5 separate regions of the Homo sapiens genome follow, and regions 2, 3, 4 and 5 are each linked to region 1. Evidence: promoter capture Hi-C in human tissues and cell types (Jung and others, 2019). All regions are on one chromosome and are shown on one strand. Each heading gives the region's core, a stretch centred on a gene start or on the middle of the fragment in contact. The rest is flanking DNA. Distances are from core to core; before and after follow the strand shown.

Region 1 (3,847 bases), core at 586-3,085:
TAATGGGATCCATCTCATTCAACACGTGCTCTTATGCCATTCACAAAGTGCTATTGCCCACATCACCCCGGCAGCTGTTTCAAGTAGGGGAGTTTTCAAAGTATTTGAAGGAGACAAATAGGTTACTTCCAACTCTTGACTTTCTTATTTAGTCTAATATCTTGTAAGAAAGATACTTTGTGAAATCATTCTACTGGTAAAAGTATATATCATCAAAATTAGCAGGCATACCCATAGCAGCTTCACAGATTAAACAGAATGCCCTTTACACAACTATAGTCAACATGGGTTGTTCTTTTAATGTTCTAAGGCTGTGTCCACCGAAATCCTGCATCTTGCATTTGTATTCCTGGTCTCTCAGGGATTATTTGGTTCAGTTGTTCTTTGTTTATTTGTAACACTATCACTAGATCCAGCAGGCATTGTGGAGCACGTATTACACATACTACAGATATTACACATACTCATATCTTCTGTATATGGGATATATGACTCAGAAGTAATAGCAAGTCAGATTACAACCTCTTAGGGAAAATCAACAGCAAATACAAGCTCACAGGCCGTGTGTACGGTTGACTTTTACATGACTTTGGATGCAAATTGACACAAACACCTCTCCATATTACAGTCATTTTTAGAGGGCAGACAGCATTCTTGAGGGGACCTGAATTGCTAGGTAATTAAAATGTATGTATGTAGAATAAAATAATCTTGGAAATAAGAGGTTTCCGTAAGCCTTCTCTCTAAAATAAGGTCACCTTCTTTGAGGTAGAGATTCTGTGCCTTGTGGAAGGAAAGCCACTTCATAAAGCAGCACAAGAATAGCCAGTTATTGAAAGGGCCATTATAAAATTACTAGCCAATGGTATTCGCTACTCTTACAATTTGTCAATCCATTCATCCCTAGGAAAAAGACAGCATAAAAGAGAGTTCTGTTCATAGGTAGAAGCAATTTATGGGAAGACTTTGGAAATGTAGAACCATTGTTTTTGATGACCATAAGAAAAAGAGGGGGTGCAAGAGGGGAGCACTATGAGGGGCCCCTGGAATAACAGCACAAAGCAAGTTAGATTCAAAGAGTGGAGTAGACCTTTGTCTAAGGGGCTTATCCTGACAAATTCAACTTTGAAGGCAGCCTGGGTCATTCTTGGAAAAGGCCATTCTTTGTCTCCAGTGACCCCAGAGACATCATATAAGGATGGGGTGATGATGCAGCAGCCGGGACCAGGTCCCAGTTGCAGTGGACAGGACAGAAGGGACTGAATGGGGCAGCAGGCTGGGGCGCCACCAGGTGCAAGCAAAGCTCAGGGATAGGGCCCCTCCCCTCCGTCCCGGCCGCTCGCTGCGCCCCCTCTGGGCGGTGCAGGCTCCGGCTCCCGCGCCGGGGCTGCCTCTCACGGATTTCAGCCCGGTGGGAGGCAGTGCCCAGAGCCTCTTTTTCCTTATCTCACAAAACCCTAAAAGCCGAACCCCTACAACCAGCAGACAAAACTGCTCCCCGAGCTTCGGCTCTTTCCTGCTTTCCAGGCGTTTCTCCGGGAATAACTTACTTAGTGGCACTGGGAGAAAGGTTGGGACTGGGGGGTCGGGGACCGAAACCCAAAAGATTCCCCCAGCATGGAGCACCCACGTTTCCAGTGGCGGGGGATGCACGTTGGTTTGTGCCCAGCCCGCCCCCACCAAGCCCGGTCCTCGACGCGCTGACACGCTAGCTGGCATGGGCGGCGGGGTGGGCGTCTCTGGGTCTGTGGCTCTGTCCTGCTCGCCCCCGCCCCTTCCTCCCGGACCGCGCCGGCGCTGTGCGGCTTTTTCCCCAGCACGCGGCGCTGCACTCGCTTTTATCTCGGAGCCGCGTCGCTTCGTGCGCTGCCAGCGGGGCTCAGCCAGTCGGCTGGAATTGAGTAGCATTCATTGAATCTGCGGATTTCATGACGTCTCTCTGCGTGGTCCACCACTTTTCTCCTAACCGGGGATTTTTTTTTTCTTCTGCCACTCTTATCTTTCCCCACTTCATTCCACCCAGTCTCCCTCCCCCGTCCCTGCCCAAACGCGCGCCCCTCCGCCCCTCCCTTGGCCCCAGCGCCCAGCCCTGCTCTCCGCGCTCGGCCAGAGGGAGCCAGTCCGGAGACGGCCGCACCTGGCTGGAGAGGCTGGGCGGGCGGAGGGGTGGAGACCCGCGGACGCCGGGAAGCCGGACCTGGAGCCGGAGCAGCCGCGAGCAGAATGGAGTCTCCTAACAGCCTCTCGGTGCTGATGTGAAATTTGACCATCTGATTCCAGTTTTTTTCTTTTCCTTTTCTTTTTTGCATTTCCTTCCCTCGCCATCCGTCGTGTAGTGAATTGTTCAGTCTTGCTCCGTTTCAAGAGAGGAGATCATGATTGAGTGAAGCCACCCCGTCCGCAGCCAGGTAAGCGGTGCGCTGAGCTGCTCGCAGGCGAGGAGCTGGCGTCCACCTGGGCGAGGCGTTCCGTGCTCTCGGGTCCCCGCGTCCCCTTCCCCAGCTCCGCCGTCGCCGCAGGCATCTCCACTCTCATGAGAAACATTGTGCCCAAGTCAGCCGAAAGGCGAGGGAGAAGCCGGTTACATAACAGAAGGGGAATCTGTTTCATACGGTTTTCATTAGCGACTGAAACTCGCACGGGGGGCGGGGGAAGGAGGGGTCTGCATCCCTGGGCTCGCAGAAACCCAGTCAGTTATTGCAGACATCATTTCAACATCCGCTGGCAAAGACTTAAATGCACTGATTAACTGACAGGTGCGGCTTGTGATGTAGTCATTTACAGTTGGGAAAAGCCTATTGTCTTTGTGGAAGGCAGTCTTCTTGTTCTGCTTTGCATGGAGAGGAGAGGAGACAACACGAAAGGGAGGAAAAGTGAGGGTTGGGGAGAAACATGCGGAGAATGGGAAACAGAATACTGTAACTCCTAACTGTTCTCTATCCTTAAAACCGAAGATGTGCTAGCATGACTAAAAACAGTGAATAGGAAGATCTTCCTAGGAGTAAACTGAATTATTTTGTAATTGGAAGGGAAGAAAAAACACTTTAGATAAAATGAGATGTGTGTGGCATTTAGAGGACTGGGTGGCTGTGGATATTTGCTTCCCTGTGGATATATTTTCATTTTCATCAAAACATTAAGCTTGGATTAGTTTTTAAGTGAAATAACATCAGTATTCCCAAAACCCAATAAAAGCCCAGTGGATCCACAGGTACATCTGTTGTACTAGGTGCAATATGGAGAGATTGTCAGGGGGAAAATATATCTTAATAGAAACAGCCACAGAGGGTGAGGTTAGTGGAGAAACAAAATACCAGAATTTTCCAAAGAATTCCGCCTCCAACCCCCAAAAAAAGGAAGAGAAAAAAAAAAAAACCCCACAACTCCAGTGTTTGGGAGTTGGAGATGTATTATATGTTTAGAGTGTTTCCCAACTGCTGTTATCCAAAGTCTGTCGGTCCCGGGGAGCCCTACGGTACAGGGAGCAATGCCACATCCTGCTAGCCCTGTTCCCTGCCTGCCTTTCTTTTGCTGAAAAAAAGAAACGGAAAAGGGTGATGCCCAGGAACTGCTTAGGGAGAAAAAAGGGCTTGCTACAGTCAGGGCTGAGCTAACTGAGCTTCGCCCATTTTGCCTGGAGAAAGAAAAAGAGCTCGAGTCTCCATGGCGACCCAGGTGGGAGGGGAGACCGCAGCTCCAGTTATAGGGGAAAAAAATTGGACAAAACTTTCCCGGCTCCAGGCAAAGGAATACGCCAGCCGCGTGCCCTGTGGCGGGTCCCAGGGCATCGGTTGTGCCCAACTCCCTGACGGCGACGCTCGAGAGGGCGCCCAGAGCTGGCCGGGTG
Region 2 (3,847 bases), core at 604-3,103, 110 kb after region 1:
ACATTAGCTAACTACACTCAATGTTCCCGACATATGGGGTAAGTGTAGGTCATTAGCTGTTGAAAGCTTTCCCCAAATGCTCAAATAGGTTAGCAACTTAAAAATAAGCCAATCTTCATAGCAATTTCCTGAGAAAATGGAGAAAGAAATTGAAAAACAACCTTTCTAAATTGTTACAAAATTTTTAAAATAAATGATGCTGAGAAAGAAAATGGTTTGCATATCCTATTGAAAGTTATTCCCATTTACTACTCCCAAAATAATAAAACAATATAATCTGTAAGAATGTTATATGCCTTTACAGAAGGTTTATCAGTCACTTCACTGAAAAAAACTGAATGCAAAAAATTCCTTAGTTAAGTTTAAGGTTTAGTTATTTTTATGTTTCATTTATTGGTTATATTACTCATCTCAGCAATTTATTACTCTCAAAAGAGCAAAAATACACTGCACACATTAAAATATTATCGTTGTTCTATTGATCACAGAAAATGTTTATATTTGTGAATTTAGATCAGGATTGTATAGTTAATGACTAGAAAATGGAGATAATGAATTTTTCATTCACAACTTGAGTTTGTAAGGTAAGTAGATCCTGATCACTTGCCAAATAAACTTGAAACGTCCTCCTGATATTTGAAAGCTGTCTGATCAATAAATCTCCTCAGCATGATCAAGGGGAGGAAGACCTTACAATCATAAAGACCCGGGGAGGGGGGAATTCTGGCTTTGCTATTTACTACGTGACCTTGGACATCCAAGGTCCAGAGGCCCATCTCTGTTTTCATGCCAATTGTCTATTTTGCAGAAATGTGGATAAGAATGCTCATAACATAGGGTCCTTGAGAGAAATAAATTATACCACATACACAGTGCCTGACTCATAGTAGGCTCTCGAAGAGGCTCATTTCTCTTTCCTATCTCCTTTCATTAACTCAGAGTTGAAATATCTGAAGTAAATCCTCAGTCCCCATCCGCTATCTACCTGGGGTAAACAACTTCATCTCTTGCTGAAGTTCTCACTTGTAAAAGCAGGAACTAACTATTCCATTTTTTATCAGCCAGTTGCTGGGGCTTCTTTCCATGTCAGCCATCACAGATCACATAGAAGCAGAAGAGTAATTCACTCAACAAACATGTTTGGGCTTCCGTGTGCCAGATTTCATGTTAGAACGCTATATTAGTTTCCTAGGGTGACTGCAACAAACTATCACAAAGTGGGCACTTAAAACAACAGAAATTTATTCACTTGCAGGTCTGGAGGCCAGAAGTTTGTAATTCAGATGTCAACAGGGTCATGCTGTCGCTGAAGGCTCTAGGGGAGTGTCCTTCCTGGCCTCTTCCGACTCCTCGTGGTTGACAGAGATCCTTGGCATTCCTTGGCTTGCAGACGCATCACTGCAGCTCTGCCACTGTCATCACACACCACACATCTGCCTGTGTGTCTTCACATTATCATCCCTCTGTGCCTTTCTCTGTGTCCAAATTTACCTCTTCTCATAAGTACACCAGTCATTGGATTAAGACACTCCTTAATCTAGTCCGAACTCATCTTAATTTGATCACTTCTGCAAATGCCTTATTTCAAATAAAGTCACATCCTTTTGGTAACACAAATCAATAAACAAGAAGGGAACACAGCAGGGACTTCAGGGGGCTCATGGCCAGAAAGGCAGGCTCAGAGAGCAAAGAAATAAAATTCAGGATGCAAAGGGTAGCAAGAGACCCTTGTCCCAGCTGCTCAGGAAGTGATAACACCAAACGCCAAATGGGGAAGGAAGAGGCAGCTCAGATTGACAGAGCGTATTTTTTTTATTTTTATCATCATCTTTACTAAAATAATACAATTTAAGATTCAAGCAGAAGACAGGACCACCTTGGAACCCCAGTATCACTCCCCAGAAGTGATATTTTTCTCATACAATTATTTTCATTGAAATATAATTCACATATCGCAAAATTCACACTTGTAAAGTATACAATTCAGTGTGTTTTGGTGTCTTCACAAATTCATGCAACCATCACCACAATCTAATGCCAGAACATTTCTATCACCCCAAAAAGAAACTCTGTCTTTATTAGCAGTCATTCCACCTGCCCCCTTTCCTGGCAATCCCTTATCTCTTTTCTGTCTCTATGGATTTCCTGTTGTGAATATTTCATATAAATAGACTTGCACAATAGATGGTCTGTTGTGTCTAGTTTCTTTTATTTAGCATAATGTTATCAAGGTTCATCCATGTTCATTCCTTTTTATAGCTAAATAATATTCCATTGTACCACATCATAATTATCCATTCATCAGTTTGGTTGTTTCCACTTTTTTGGCTGTTGTGAATAGTAGTGCCTACTCACTATAGTAAAGACATAGACTCAACAATGCCCATCAATGATAGACTGGGTAAAGAAAATGTGGTACATATACACCATGGAATACTATAAAGCCATAAAAAATAATGAGACCATATCCTTTGCAGGAACATGGATGGAGCTGTAGGCCATTATCCTTACCAAGCTAATGCAGGAACAGAAAACCAAATACCGCATGTTCTCACTTATAAGGGGGAGCTAAATGATAATACATGGACACACAGAGGGGAACAACCTCTACTGGAGCCTATTAGAGGGTGGAGGATGGGAGGAGGGAGAAGATCAGGAAAAATAACTAATGGGTACTAGGCTTAATACCTGAGTGATGAAATAATCTGTACAACAAACCCCCATGACACAAGTTTACCTGTATAAAAAACCTGCACACGTACCCCTGAAATTAAAATAAAGTTAAATAAAATAAAAATTAAAAAAGAATAGTAGTGCTATGAATATCCACATAGTAATTTTTGTGTGGACATAGGTTTTTAATTTTGGGGGGTATGCACCTAGGAGTGGAACTGCTGGGTCATGTGGTAATTCAATGTTTAACCTTTTGAGGAACTGCCAACCTGTTTTCCACAGAAGCTGCACCATTTTACAATCCTACAAACAATGAGTGTTGCAATTTCCCCACATCCTTGTCAACACTTGTTATTATCTGTCTTTCTGATTAGAGTCATCCTAGTGGGTGTGAAAGTGGTTTTGATTTGCACTTCCCTAGTGACTAACGATGCATCTTTTCTGGTGCTCATGGCAGATTTTAATATCTCCTTTGAAGAAATGTCTATTAAAATCCTTTCCCCATTTTTTTAACTGGGGGCAGAGTATTTTTGCTCACAGGGATTTTGAGCTCAGAAATAAAATTCAAAGTGGGAGACTTGGATAGAAGCGAAGGGCAGGCAACATCAGCAAAAGCTTTCCCCAAAAGGACGCCCCTTCTGTGAGCCCTCCCCTCTATCCAGTGTCCCTGGTCCCATGAAGGAGTGAGATGGTGAGGACACAGTCAAAAGGTGAGCCCAACTCAGATGGAGTCATGCCAAGAGAGAAACAGACGTAGGGAAGATAGTGTTATTTCTTCATGTGGAAGGTAGGTGTCGTGTGTTCATTTTAATTTGAAGCAAATAGGACAGCACTTCCTCATCGTTTTGCCTGCTGGTGTGTGCCCACCATGGACCCCAGTGGGGCAGGGAGGAGGGCACTTCTCTGCCAATTTGAGGGAATAATGGTCAGTGACAGTGGTGACGTCTGCTACAAAATCACCTGGAAAAGCAAATTCCTACGGTGAAATACTGTCCAACACTGTCCTAAGAAGAGACTTTTAAGCCAATTAGAGTGTCAGGAATTATGATAAATGCTCTAATTATGATTCTGGCCGACTCACTATATACCATGAATCTCCTGCCCCAACTCCAGCCCCAGCATCACCACAGACTTATTTCCGTGGTGGATTGATGTCTTGTTCTACTAAGTACAT
Region 3 (3,847 bases), core at 952-3,451, 110 kb before region 1:
CCAGCAGGGAAGGAAGCACTAAGCATTGGTGCTGGGGTGGGGGATTTGAGGGCCTTCTCTGCAGAAACTCACACTCAGGGAAGAGGAGCACAAGGAGGTGGTGGTATAGACTTGGAGTGGAAGTGTTGCTTTCTTTAACTTGCTGCAAAACAATTACTAAATGCAAAGACTGGCATCTTCTAAACTCAGGTAGATTAAAGAAAAAAAGTAAACCAAACTTCTTTAAACAAGGGATGAATGTATACATTCTGGAAGAAAAAGATAAGGTGAATCAGATGTTTAAGCCATCACCTGGAGCCTCTTGGAGCAAATGTGTTGATTTTTTTTTTTTTTTTTTTTTTTTTTTTTTTTTTGAGACGGAGTCTCGCTGTCGCCCAGGCTGGAGTGCAGTGGCGCAATCTCGGCTCACTGCAAGCTCCGCCTCCTGGGTTCACGCCATTCTCCTGCCTCAGCCTCCCGAGTAGCTGGGACTACAGGCTCCCGCCACCTCGCCTGGCTAATTTTTTGTATTTTTAGTAGAGACGGGGTTTCACCGTGTTAGCCAGGATGGTCTCGATCTCCTGACCTCGTGATCCGCCCACCTCGGCCTCCCAAAGTGCTGGGATTACAGGCGTGAGCCACCGCGCCCGGCCAAATGTGTTGATTTTGAGACTTGCTGGGGACTCTGGGGCTGAAGTTACTGAGGGCAACGTATGGCCACCGGGGTGACCTGCCCTTTTGGATGCCTGTTCTCCATGTTTCTTCCCTGCAGTCTTAAAGGAAAGCACTGATGTAGGGCTTCATTCCTTCATTGCCCCCAGTTCTGCTGGGGAAGCCATGGTACATTATGCCAAGGAGAATAGACTTGGTGTCATGAAATCGCGTGGCATGGTCAGGAAATGGTAACATCTTAAGTGTAACTATAGTCTACAGTTTATAGTGAAAAGCAGAATAAAATTACAGGTGAATCTTGAAAGAAAGCAAGTTCAAACCACAGAGAGTGATGCCAGAGATCTGGGACCTTCTGGGAAACATGCCAGGAGCCCACTGAAGGGTTTCCATCAGGGAAGTAGTGGGATCGGACTGGGATATGGTGAAGCTCCTGTGAAAGAGGACTTCAATTAGGGACTGACAATGAGAATGAAAAAGGAAAAATTATCAATGAAATATGTTCAGTGGATAATACAAAGGGCTTACATTTCTAATGAGATATGGGGCAGGATGGAAAAAAGGGGAGTCAGGGTGGTCCCACTTCTCTTGGGTACATATAGGGCAGATGATGATGATGCTATAAACTAAAGTGGGGGCACGGAAGGCAGCATAAGTTGAGAGGGGTAGAGACAGAACAAGGGAGATAATGAGATCAATTTAGGACAAGATAAAGCTTGAGAAAGGAGGACTATTTGTGCCCCAAGCTCCCTTTGTCCATAATGTGTCCATGGGAGGTGGTAAAGGCAGTGATGGGATCGTCTGGTACACAAGATTTCAATTCCTTGTTACTATTCTGCTCCTTCTCCCTGAAGGGAGACGGTGTGGAAACCTGGAATTCATGGTGTCATATTTTAATACATTGTGCTGTAAAGGCAGGTCTCTCCCTTCTCCTTCTCATCAGTGCAATAGGTCTTCTGTTTCCCTGTTGTCCTTCTTCCTGCTCAGGTATCACAGCCTGTCCTTGCTTTCTGTCTCCTTGCAGCCAGCCACGTGGGTAATACTTGGCTCGGAGCACATGCACCAGAGTGCCAAGGATGGATGCAGGTGGCAGATGGGGGCTGTATTCATGTCCTGTGGCTGCTATAACAAATGACCACAAACTTGCTGCCTTCAGGCAATCGCAGTTCATTCTCCCACAGTTCTGGAGGCCAGAAATTAGAATCACTGGACTATAATCGAGGTGTCAACAGGAAACCCTTTGGTGGCTGCCATCATCCCTTGACTTGTGGGGATGCTATCTTCTAATCTCTTGTCTTCAAGGCCAGAGTCTTCCAACCTCTCTTTGCTCTCCCTTCAAGTCACCTTCTCCTCTGAGTGTTACCAAATCTCCCTCTGCCTCCCTGTTACAAAGAGTACATGTGATTGTACTTAGGACTAGGACTCACTTGGTCATCCAGGAGACTCTGCCCATCTCAAGATTCTTAATTACATCTGTAAAGATCCTTTTTTTATGCCACAAGGTAACATTCACAGATTTCAGGGATTAGGACATGGCTATCTTCGGGGAGGCATTATTCAGCCTCCCACAGAAGCTCTGAGCACTGGGCAAATCTGTGTTCTCCACCCAGGCTTCTCAGAAGCCTTCCATTTGGGTAGGCTTTGGGCACTTGCCCAGCCATTGACAGAATAGTGAGGTCTCTTTTGAAAGAGAGAATCTTCATGGCTACACTGCATTGAACAGAATCCTAGAAAGAGGGAGGAGTCTTAGGCTTAGAACCCTTTCTAGCTAATTATGATGCCTGTAGACTTCTGATAGAGAGATCTAGAACTCATCAGTGATGACCAAAGGCCAAAGAGTGAGCATTTTTCTTAGGGGATGTGTTTAATGACACTAGGGAAAAGCCAAGGACCAAAATCCAACTGTGCTGGAGGCAGCATGACATCAGGTCATCTCCAACCCCCTGGGCTATACCTTGGCAGCCTCCTAACAAACAATCCCCTCTGGGTGGTTGAGGAAGGGTAAATGTGTCTCAGGTCTCCTTCTCCGAACTGCAAAAAGTTCTGCTGTTAGAAGTGGTCACTGGCTGTGAGTGAAATTCATCTTAAGCACTTTTATGTTGTAAGATTTGTGTACACATCTAATAACTTAAAGACTATTTCTAGCGTTGTTTTCAACTACAAATGAGTTCAAACTTGTATTCAACTGACCTAGAAATAAATTTTTCTGGAACAGAGTTCTTCTGTATTTTGAGGGCTGCATTTATTCCAAAAACAAACTTGCCCTAGTTAGGGTACAAAAGAATCCTGACTACATTTACTATAAAGAACACGGTAACAGTGATCGAAGAGACAAGTCAAACTTAAATTATGAGGCTTTTTTTAAGTTCTGTGAAAGCCAGGCGACAGACGAAGACTGCTAGTTGTAAAATCTTCGCCAGTGACATTCACGCCACCAACTCTTTTTAAACTTGTTTGTGAAGTCTGTTTATCTCATTGACTTTCTGACTTCCACGGTACACATCTGAGTGTTTCTACTTGGAATTAGGAAGCCATCCACTTGTAACATCTCATATTTTCAGACTTTTCTATCAAAGAACCCCAGTGTAGCAGGTCAGTGTTTTTCTTGTTTTGTTTACATTTGTCTTATTTCTTTCTTTCTTCCTTTCTTTTTTTTTTTTTTTGTTGAGACGGAGTCTCGCTCTGTCACCCAGGCTGGAGTGCAGTGGCACAATCTTGGCTCACTGCAACCTCCGCCTCCTGGGTTCAAGTGATTCTCCTGCTTCAGCCTCCTGAGTAGCTGGGACTATAAGTGCATGCCACCACGCCCAACTAATTTTTTGTACTTTTAGTAGAGACAGGGTTTCACTATGTTAGCCAGGATGGTCTTGATCTCCTGACCTCATGATCCACCCACATCAGCCTCCCAAAGTGCTGGGATTACAGGCGTGAGCCATCGCGCCCAGCCCGTCTTATTTCTTTTTTATTTAGTAAAACGTACATAACATAATTTACAGTGTTAACCATTTCCAAGTGCACAATTCAGTCATGTTAAGTATATTCACATTGTTGTGAGACAAATCCCCAGAACTTCTCATCTTGCAAGACTAAAACTCTTTGCCCATTGAACAACTCCCCATTCCCCCATCACCACCCCCACAGCCCCATTCTACTTTCTGGTTTTATGAATTCGACTACCTTAGATACCCCACATAAGTGA
Region 4 (3,847 bases), core at 972-3,471, 95 kb after region 1:
ATATGCATTTTTTGTGTCAAGAACTTTCCCTTTTTAAAAATGCATTTGTCTCTTTTTCCCCCCACCTCCATGGAGATATCATGGATGAATAAAATTGTATATATTTACAATGTGATATTTGAATATATGTACGCATTGTGAAATGATTCAATCAAGCTAGTTAGCATATCCCTCTCACAAACATCATTTTTGTGGTGATAATATTTAAGATCTAGCAATTTCAAGTATACAATGCATAATAATTAACCACAGTCACCATACCGTATGGTAAGCATCCAGAACTTCTGCTGTCTGACTGAAACTTTGTGTTCTTTGACCAACATCTCCCCATCCCTTAGCCTCTGGGAACCACCATTCTACCTACTCTCTGCTTCTATGGTGTATTAGTCCATTTTTACACTGCTATGAAGAACTACCTGAGACTGGATAATTTATAAAGGAAAGAGGTTTAATTGACTCACAGTTCCACATGGCTGGGGAGGCCCCAAGAAACTTACAATCATGGCGAAAGGGGAACCAGGCACCTTCTTCACATGGCGGCAGGAGAGAAAGAGTGAGAGTGTGTAGGAGGAAATGTCAAACACTTATAAAACCATCAGATCTCATGATAACTCACTAACTATCAGAAGAACAGCATGGGGGAAGGAGCCTCCATGATCCAATCACCTCCCACCAGGTCCCTCCCTTGACATGTGGGGATTATGGAGATTATAATTTGAGATGAGATTTGGGTGGGGACACAAAGCCAAACCATGTCATATGGGTTGGACTCTTTAGATTCCACATGTAAGTGAGATCATGCAGTATTTGTCCTTCTGTACCTGGTTTATTTCACTTCACATAATGTGCTCCAGGTTCATCCATGTTGTTGCAAGTGACAGAATTTCCTTCTTTTCCAAATCCTATGTTTATTGCAGCATTTTTCTGGAGCCTCAGGTGTGCCCAGAGCCTAAGTCTGAGGGCTCTGGCCTGGTGTTGGGGTGGCCGTGGGGGCTGGTTCGGCAGGTGCTGGCCTGCAGACTGGGGCTGGGGGCCTGCCTGCCATCTCTCTCCATGCTGTGCTGCTCGGGTTTAGGGGAGGGTGACACAGGTTATGTGAATCTGTCCCTCCCTCTTCAACATGTCCTTTCTTATTTCTGTGCTAACCCCTGGTGCTATAGTCTCTTGCCTGGTTTCCTTAGCTCTTGTGAAGGAATTTTCATGCATGACAAGTTGTTCAAAGTGATGTTTCGATGAAGGAATGAGGACTGAAAAGTCTTATTCCACCCCCTGCTGACATCACTCTCGAGTCCCCCGTTTTGGTGTCAATTCCACTGAAACATTCTGAGCTGTCATATAAGACCCAATCTAAATATTTATTAAAAGTGATTTAAGTCTATGGCTTCTTGACAGAGCCATAGGTTCTTTTCCTCAGTGAACCTGAGACCAATAGTGGGTTTTACATCCTCACAAAAGACAATCAAAATCGAATCCATAGAGATTAGAGGTCTATGAGAAGTTCCCACTCACTTGTCTATGTGAGCAGGCTCCAACAAAGCCATAGACCCCAATATAAAGCATCCTCTCAACAAAAATATGCCTCTCAATGCTGAGTAGGAACACAGAAGGCGTTTCTTTTGACAGATAATTTCCCGCATAAAACAATAGCCCGTACCCATTCAGAGGCTTCAGGAGCAGAGAGCTGAGTGGGTTTTCAGGAACAGCTCCCAGCTTGTAGGAGCCCCAGAGCTGTCCTGGGATATTGGCTGCTGTCTGGTGTTGGGGGAAAAAATGGAACCAGGCACTTGGGCACAGCCCTGGCAGCACCCCCACCTTCCCCATCCACGAGGAATGGGTGCCTATCAGAGGAGATTGGGCATGTTCAGAGTGGTATGGCCATAGACAACAGGTGCCTATCAAACCACGACCCACTCTTCATTGTGAAATGGTGTCTGCAAGCCACTCCCCAGCTCCTAGCATGACAAGGGACCTGTCATCCTCCACGTGCAGCCAGATTGTTATTACATCTGTCTCTCCAAACAGCAACTCTGGGAAGCTAGCTCACCTGAGAATAGTAGCTTCAGGTTGCAGTTCAGTTCAACCTGGCTCACCTGAAGCAGTGTGAGAAATACTTATTTTAACAAACAGGTGTGACAGCTCCTCTGTGTTGATTATCCTCCTCTGGTGGAATCTTCACATTGACTCAGATATGCAGTCATGTCTCTGGCTGGTCATGACTAATGCCTGCTAAAGAAATCTTTAAAATAATACAACCATTAGACAATATAATTCTAATCCAAAACCATTACAGGAAAACTGTCATTCAGCATTTACTAGGATTTGCTGTGTGTCTGCCATTCTTTCTGGATAAAATAAAGGATATAGATTCTATTTATAGAGTAGAATTTACTATTTGATTAACCAGACCCAGTAGACTAAAGTCTTCCTATAACCATATACAATACATTTAGGAAAAATGAGAAAGTGATAAAGAAATAAAGTACCCTAACACAGTTGGCATAAGTAGGTGTTAAGTGGACGACTGATAACAAAGATTTCATTTAAAAATAATTACCTTCTGGAACACATGGACACAGGGAGGGAAACAACACACATTGGGGCCTGTTGGGGGGGCAGGGGAAAGGAGAGCATCAGGATAAATAGCTAATGCATGTGGGGCTTAATACCTAGGTGATGGGTTGATAGGTGCAGCAAACCACCATGACACGCTTACCTATATAACAAACCTGCATGTCCTTCATGGATAACCTAGAATGTAAAATTAAATTTTAAAAAATTAAGAAATAAAAAAATTGCCTTCTGAAGGAGAGAATTGCTAAGTGAGTACAGGATTTCCTTTTGGGTTGTTGAAAATGGGAACTAGATGGAGGTAGTGGTTATACAGCATTGTGCAACAATGTAGGTAACGTTTACTTTAAGTTAAAATTGTCAATTTTTTGTTATGTGAAATTCACCTAAATAAAAAAGTTATTTTCCATATTATGTGCTATTATACTGGGGTCAGAACAAATTTAGTCACACCTTCACAAAACCATGCAACAGTGGTTGTGATAATATTTGCAAGAGGAGACATGGCAAGAATGAGCATCATTAATGGGAGATAAGTATCTGTCACACTCTCCTAAGATAGAAAAACCAGCTGAAACATTTTAAATAGAAGATTAGTATCTGTCACACTCTCTTAAGACAGGAAAGCCAGCTAAAACGTTTTTAAGTTTTTCAACAAGAAATAATATTGAACACAGAGGGTTATTTTCTACTTAAGACATTGTTCACAAGAAAATCCAACTAGTCAAAACAAGGCACATCCCTCAAGGGCTGCCAACATATACCTCATGGTTTTTGGTCAGTGTATCTCCTAAGTTCTTATATCCTAAGCTCTTCAGAAAAGCAAATAAAATAATAATAAGCTTTCAAAAAGAAACAAATTATCTGAATATTTGGGTTTGCCAAAGTGATGAGGAGTAAGAACAAGGTTAATAACATTGACATGGCACTTTCTTGAGTTCTGTTAGTCATTCTAGTAAATTATGGAACCTGAATGGGTCATACGAACCCCAGAATTCGTAGCAGGAAGTTTGATCAGAACATAGGTCAGAAGTGAGGATAGCCTAGGATCCCCGATGTGCTGCTGACATCTGAAGCAGTGTCATCCAAATGCAGTGCAAAATGGCAGACACACAGCAAATCCATAGTAAATCTGTGGCTTCCAGGACAGAGTCCCTAATCTGTGAAGTCTAACTCCAGGTGGTTAGTGTCAGAATTGAATTGCAGCACACCCAGCTTTGAGCAGGAACATGTACTTCAACAGATCAATCCGAAACAATTAAAAAGAATCAGAATACAG
Region 5 (3,847 bases), core at 795-3,294, 69 kb after region 1:
CTATATTTTACAATATTTCCAGGAGCTCTAGGAAAGGAGAAATGAGTCACTCACCAATATTCCAAGAAACCAACTCCCCTGGGGAAATTCGTGAAACATTGTCTGGATATTGACGCTGAAAGTCAAGAGCTTGTCCCACAGTATTTCAAGCCAGGGAGGACACACACACAGCTGGGTTTGGAGAAACTCTGGCAGCCATGTGGTCCAACTGTTTTCTTACTCTTATCTCTGCTACCCATCACTCTTAGAAGGTCACGTGCTCAACATGCTTTCAAGAAAGTACCCAGAGCAATGCTCCAAATACTCTCCTGCCATCTACGAACTCACGCTGAAGCCCAAAGGAATTGAGGCAATGTTAGTACAAACTTAACTTTGAATCTGATTTATCTTTGTGAGATATCCTCATAACTCAGTGTATTAGGACCCTCCCTGGTCTGGTCAACAAGACCACAATGGTGGCAGCATAAGGAACCAGTCAGGGTGACCTGTACATAGGGACCTTAGAAAGGCTATCTGGTGAGGCTAAGGCTCTGAGCCTTATTGCAAAGAGGGCTTTCTCACCTAAAGCATCCTACATGGCCTGCCTAGCAAAAATGTCACCTCCTTCGAGCACACCCCACAGATGTTTTTACCCCAAATTGTGAAAATTTCAGATTATTTTAGAAACTTTAACTGAGTATATCAGTGGTGAAAACTAACTTTACTCTAAAAAAATGGTACCCCATCCTGATAGGCAAGTTCTTTACTCTTCAAATCTGCTAGTCCCCGGGCTCACAGGAGAGCACACTCATTGGGTTTTGCCTCCACATCTCCCACCATCTTCCTTGGCTCACCAGCGTGGGTTGCCACGGTCTTCACACAGGCACCTTCCTCCTCCCACTGGTTTGCCACAACTCCAGCCCTGGCCTCCCTCCTGAGCAGCTGTCTGGCCTCCAGGGACCTCCAGGGCTTATGTCCTCATTGTCCATGCCAGCCTCCTGCTCTTCTTCTCACACCAAGCCTTGGTCCCCCTGTGACCTGCTGCTCCTCACGCACCAAGCTTCCCCACCTTTCCTCATGCCATTTCTCCATCTGGAGTATTCTTCCTTGCCCTCCCCTCTCCCATCACTCTTCTTCCCCTCCTTCACACCTTGAAGCTGCTTCCTCCGTGAGGCACACCCTGGTTCTGTGAGTTAGAACTACATTTTCTCCAGTCTCATTCTCTGTCTCTATTCTGTTTCTCCCCCTCCTTCTCCCCCTCCCTTCTCTCCTCTCTCTCTCCCTCTCTCTCTCTGTCTCTCCCTTTCTCTTTGCTCCCTCTGTTCCTCTTTCTATCGATGTCCTGTAGAACCCTTCTGGTGTTTTACCCTTGATACCACATATTGCAGCTATTTCTCTACACATCTTGCCTTCTGGACCAAACTGGAAGCTCTCTGAAGGCAGGTGTAAAGCTGGCTTTACCTGGATGTCCTCTTCTATCCAGTGTCCATCTTGTGCACATCAATAAATTTTCAGCATCGGATGATTGAAGAAGGATCTTAGACCTGGATTCTCACTGCTGCCTTCAGCATGAACGGCCTTCATTTCTAGGACTTCTCACCAGTTCCTAGGGTTGCAGGTGGCACCGTGGCTGAGAGAGTGCAGGTGCAGAAAGAAGACTTGTTGGGTTTCATGCTCAACTCTACTCCTCACCAGCCGTGTGATCTGGCATGATCTGCTGAACCTCTCTGTGCCTCAGTTTCCCCATCCTCAAAGTAGAGAAGACAGTACCATTTCACAGGGTCCTTGTGAGAATTAAGGAGATAGTCTAATGTACTAATGCAGTGACAGGCTATAATAAATGTGAAGTAAACATTAGGAGTTACTATTTTTATATATTTTCATATTATATTTTTATGTATTTTATATTTATATTGCCCCAAACCATACTTGCATACCGACTACTCATTTCCATTTGTTTTTCATTAGGCAAAAAACTAATTAGTGATTCTTAAATGCTGTGGCCTATATTTTTCGGCAGCAACTCAAGGCAACATAAATGATGCTGTACTAAGAGAACACTCACTTGCTTGGCTATCTGAGGATGTGGCATTTTCCATTTAAATCAGTCCTCAGGTGACCTGCCATGGCACCGTGTCAGGGAAGAGGAGGGGGGAAGGTGAGGAGGGGCCAGGGCTGGTGCATTTGTTGAGAACCTGAAGAACAGGGCGGGAGATTTGAGGGCTCCTGGTTTAACCAGAGGTGAGGCCCTGTTGAGGATACTAAGTTCATAAAATGGCTTTATCGTTTCCTACTTTGCATAAATGTTTCTTTAAATGGTTGTATTTTGGGAAAAAAATCACAGTTTTCTGATGAATACAAGCACACATTTTAGAGAGATAAAAATATCTGAGATGCAAATATAACCGGTTTGAAATATATCAACCATGATGAGTTTCCCCCTCATCCTTAAAAGCCTACTTCTGGGTAGCAGAAAGCAAGGCAGCACCACCGAAAATGCAGACCTCACTGGGTTCTGCCAGCTCCTGTCCTCTGTCTGAGGGAGCCCCATGCAGCAGAAAAAAACCCTTTCTACCCTTTCTAGATACTCTGCATTCATGAATCAATCTCCTCTTCCCCATCCTCCTCTCTCCCTCACACACACACACACACACACACACACACACACACACACACACACACACACAGAGTGTCTCAGCCTTAGCTCTGAGCTAAAGTCAGACTGTTATAATTGCCCTCATTAAAAACACCTCTGTCATTTTAGACACTCAAAGAGAAGTATGTAGCTGGCATGGACTCAGTAGAAAGCCATACTCTCTTTAGCTGAAACAGATGTGGGAGTATAAATTACACACACACCCCCACAAGCAAGTTGCTGAGCCTTTATTTACTTCCCCAGGTGTGGAAGAGGGAATAAAGTTCAGACAGAAAATTAAATGCCCATTGCCCCTGAAAGTCAATGCTCTACCCGAGGAGTTTATGATTTAAACAAGACACTTAACGTTGTTTTTTTTTCAGCATCTGTGAACATGTTTTACTCAAATATATCATCATGATTACCCCAAACGTTTGATGTGTCTATGAATGCCTTTTATTAAATGTACAACAATACGACTTTAAGTGGAGTGCCTCCTAGAGCAAAATAGCATAGCTCTTCCAAGCAGTGTGCCTAGGTTCTGCAGACCTTATATTCTGGAGCAGGGGTGTGGAAATACAGGTGTGGGTTGCATAGTCACCAGCTGTTGACGAGTAGTTCCCTGAGGGGCTGGCAGCCATGGGTCTGGCTAATTTCAGGGAAATTTGCTTTGTTATTTTTGGCACAAATGCTAGAGGTCAATATTTGTCCTCAAATAGCAAGAACAGGTTCTAACTCTGGGTCCCCACACAGTAGCCAAACGGAATAATGATTACAAACCCACACATGGACATTACACTTGACTGTATTTATATACATTGTCTCATTTGTTCCTCAAACAGTCCTGTGAATCAGGCAGTGCAAATTCCACCTATCCCCACTTCACAGATGAGAAAATTAGAGCTTCCAAGATTAGTTAATGAGTGAATAAGAAGTGGTAAAACCATGACAAAAACCTTTCTAGACCCAGGCTTCCAAACTCTTATACATGTGCTCTCTTTCTCTCTCTCCCCGCCACTCTCTCTACGAACATCCAAGTGGGATAGACACAATAAGCAAGAACAAAAAATTTTCAGGCCAAAGTAAGTTCTTTTCTCCCAACAAGTATGATTCCTGCTTTTCTGATTTTCTTTTCATTTTAAAAGAACATGAGATGATTACCTCTGATATAAAAACCCTTGGCTCCCCCAGGGAAAGACATTTTTAACACAAGTTCATGAAACAAATATATCT

What was found. Contacts are between HindIII fragments. The study calls those that stand out against the background at their distance.
Region 2: a contact is called between a fragment that was not itself captured here and the fragment with the promoter of KCNJ6 in region 1, in 9 of the 25 tissues and cell types used here (H1 embryonic stem cells, IMR-90 fibroblasts, dorsolateral prefrontal cortex and 6 more).
Region 3: a fragment that was not itself captured here is called in contact with the fragment with the promoter of KCNJ6 in region 1 in 4 of the 25 tissues and cell types used here (bladder, heart right ventricle, mesendoderm cells and 1 more).
Region 4: a contact is called between a fragment that was not itself captured here and the fragment with the promoter of KCNJ6 in region 1, in 5 of the 25 tissues and cell types used here (dorsolateral prefrontal cortex, heart right ventricle, mesenchymal stem cells and 2 more).
Region 5: a contact is called between a fragment that was not itself captured here and the fragment with the promoter of KCNJ6 in region 1, in 2 of the 25 tissues and cell types used here (dorsolateral prefrontal cortex and mesenchymal stem cells).

The regions. Positions count from the first base shown.
Region 1 is chr21:37,914,445-37,918,291 of GRCh38, reverse strand. It overlaps KCNJ6 (potassium inwardly rectifying channel subfamily J member 6), which reads left to right and starts at 1,835. Exons shown (of 4, transcript NM_002240.5): 1 at 1,835-2,408. The HindIII fragment of the contact is 8,322 bases long and covers 1-3,617 here.
Region 2 is chr21:37,803,365-37,807,211 of GRCh38, reverse strand. The region is part of intron 2 of KCNJ6 (potassium inwardly rectifying channel subfamily J member 6); the gene reads left to right. Among named protein-coding and RNA genes, the nearest start is that of KCNJ6, 110 kb to the left of the region's middle. The HindIII fragment of the contact is 5,208 bases long and covers 1-3,847 here.
Region 3 is chr21:38,022,523-38,026,369 of GRCh38, reverse strand. No RefSeq gene overlaps it. Among named protein-coding and RNA genes, the nearest start is that of DSCR4, 97 kb to the left of the region's middle. The HindIII fragment of the contact is 3,153 bases long and covers 625-3,777 here.
Region 4 is chr21:37,820,315-37,824,161 of GRCh38, reverse strand. The region is part of intron 2 of KCNJ6 (potassium inwardly rectifying channel subfamily J member 6); the gene reads left to right. Among named protein-coding and RNA genes, the nearest start is that of KCNJ6, 94 kb to the left of the region's middle. The HindIII fragment of the contact is 9,746 bases long and covers 1-3,847 here.
Region 5 is chr21:37,845,173-37,849,019 of GRCh38, reverse strand. All of the region lies in intron 1 of KCNJ6 (potassium inwardly rectifying channel subfamily J member 6), which reads left to right. Among named protein-coding and RNA genes, the nearest start is that of KCNJ6, 69 kb to the left of the region's middle. The HindIII fragment of the contact is 4,909 bases long and covers 1-3,847 here.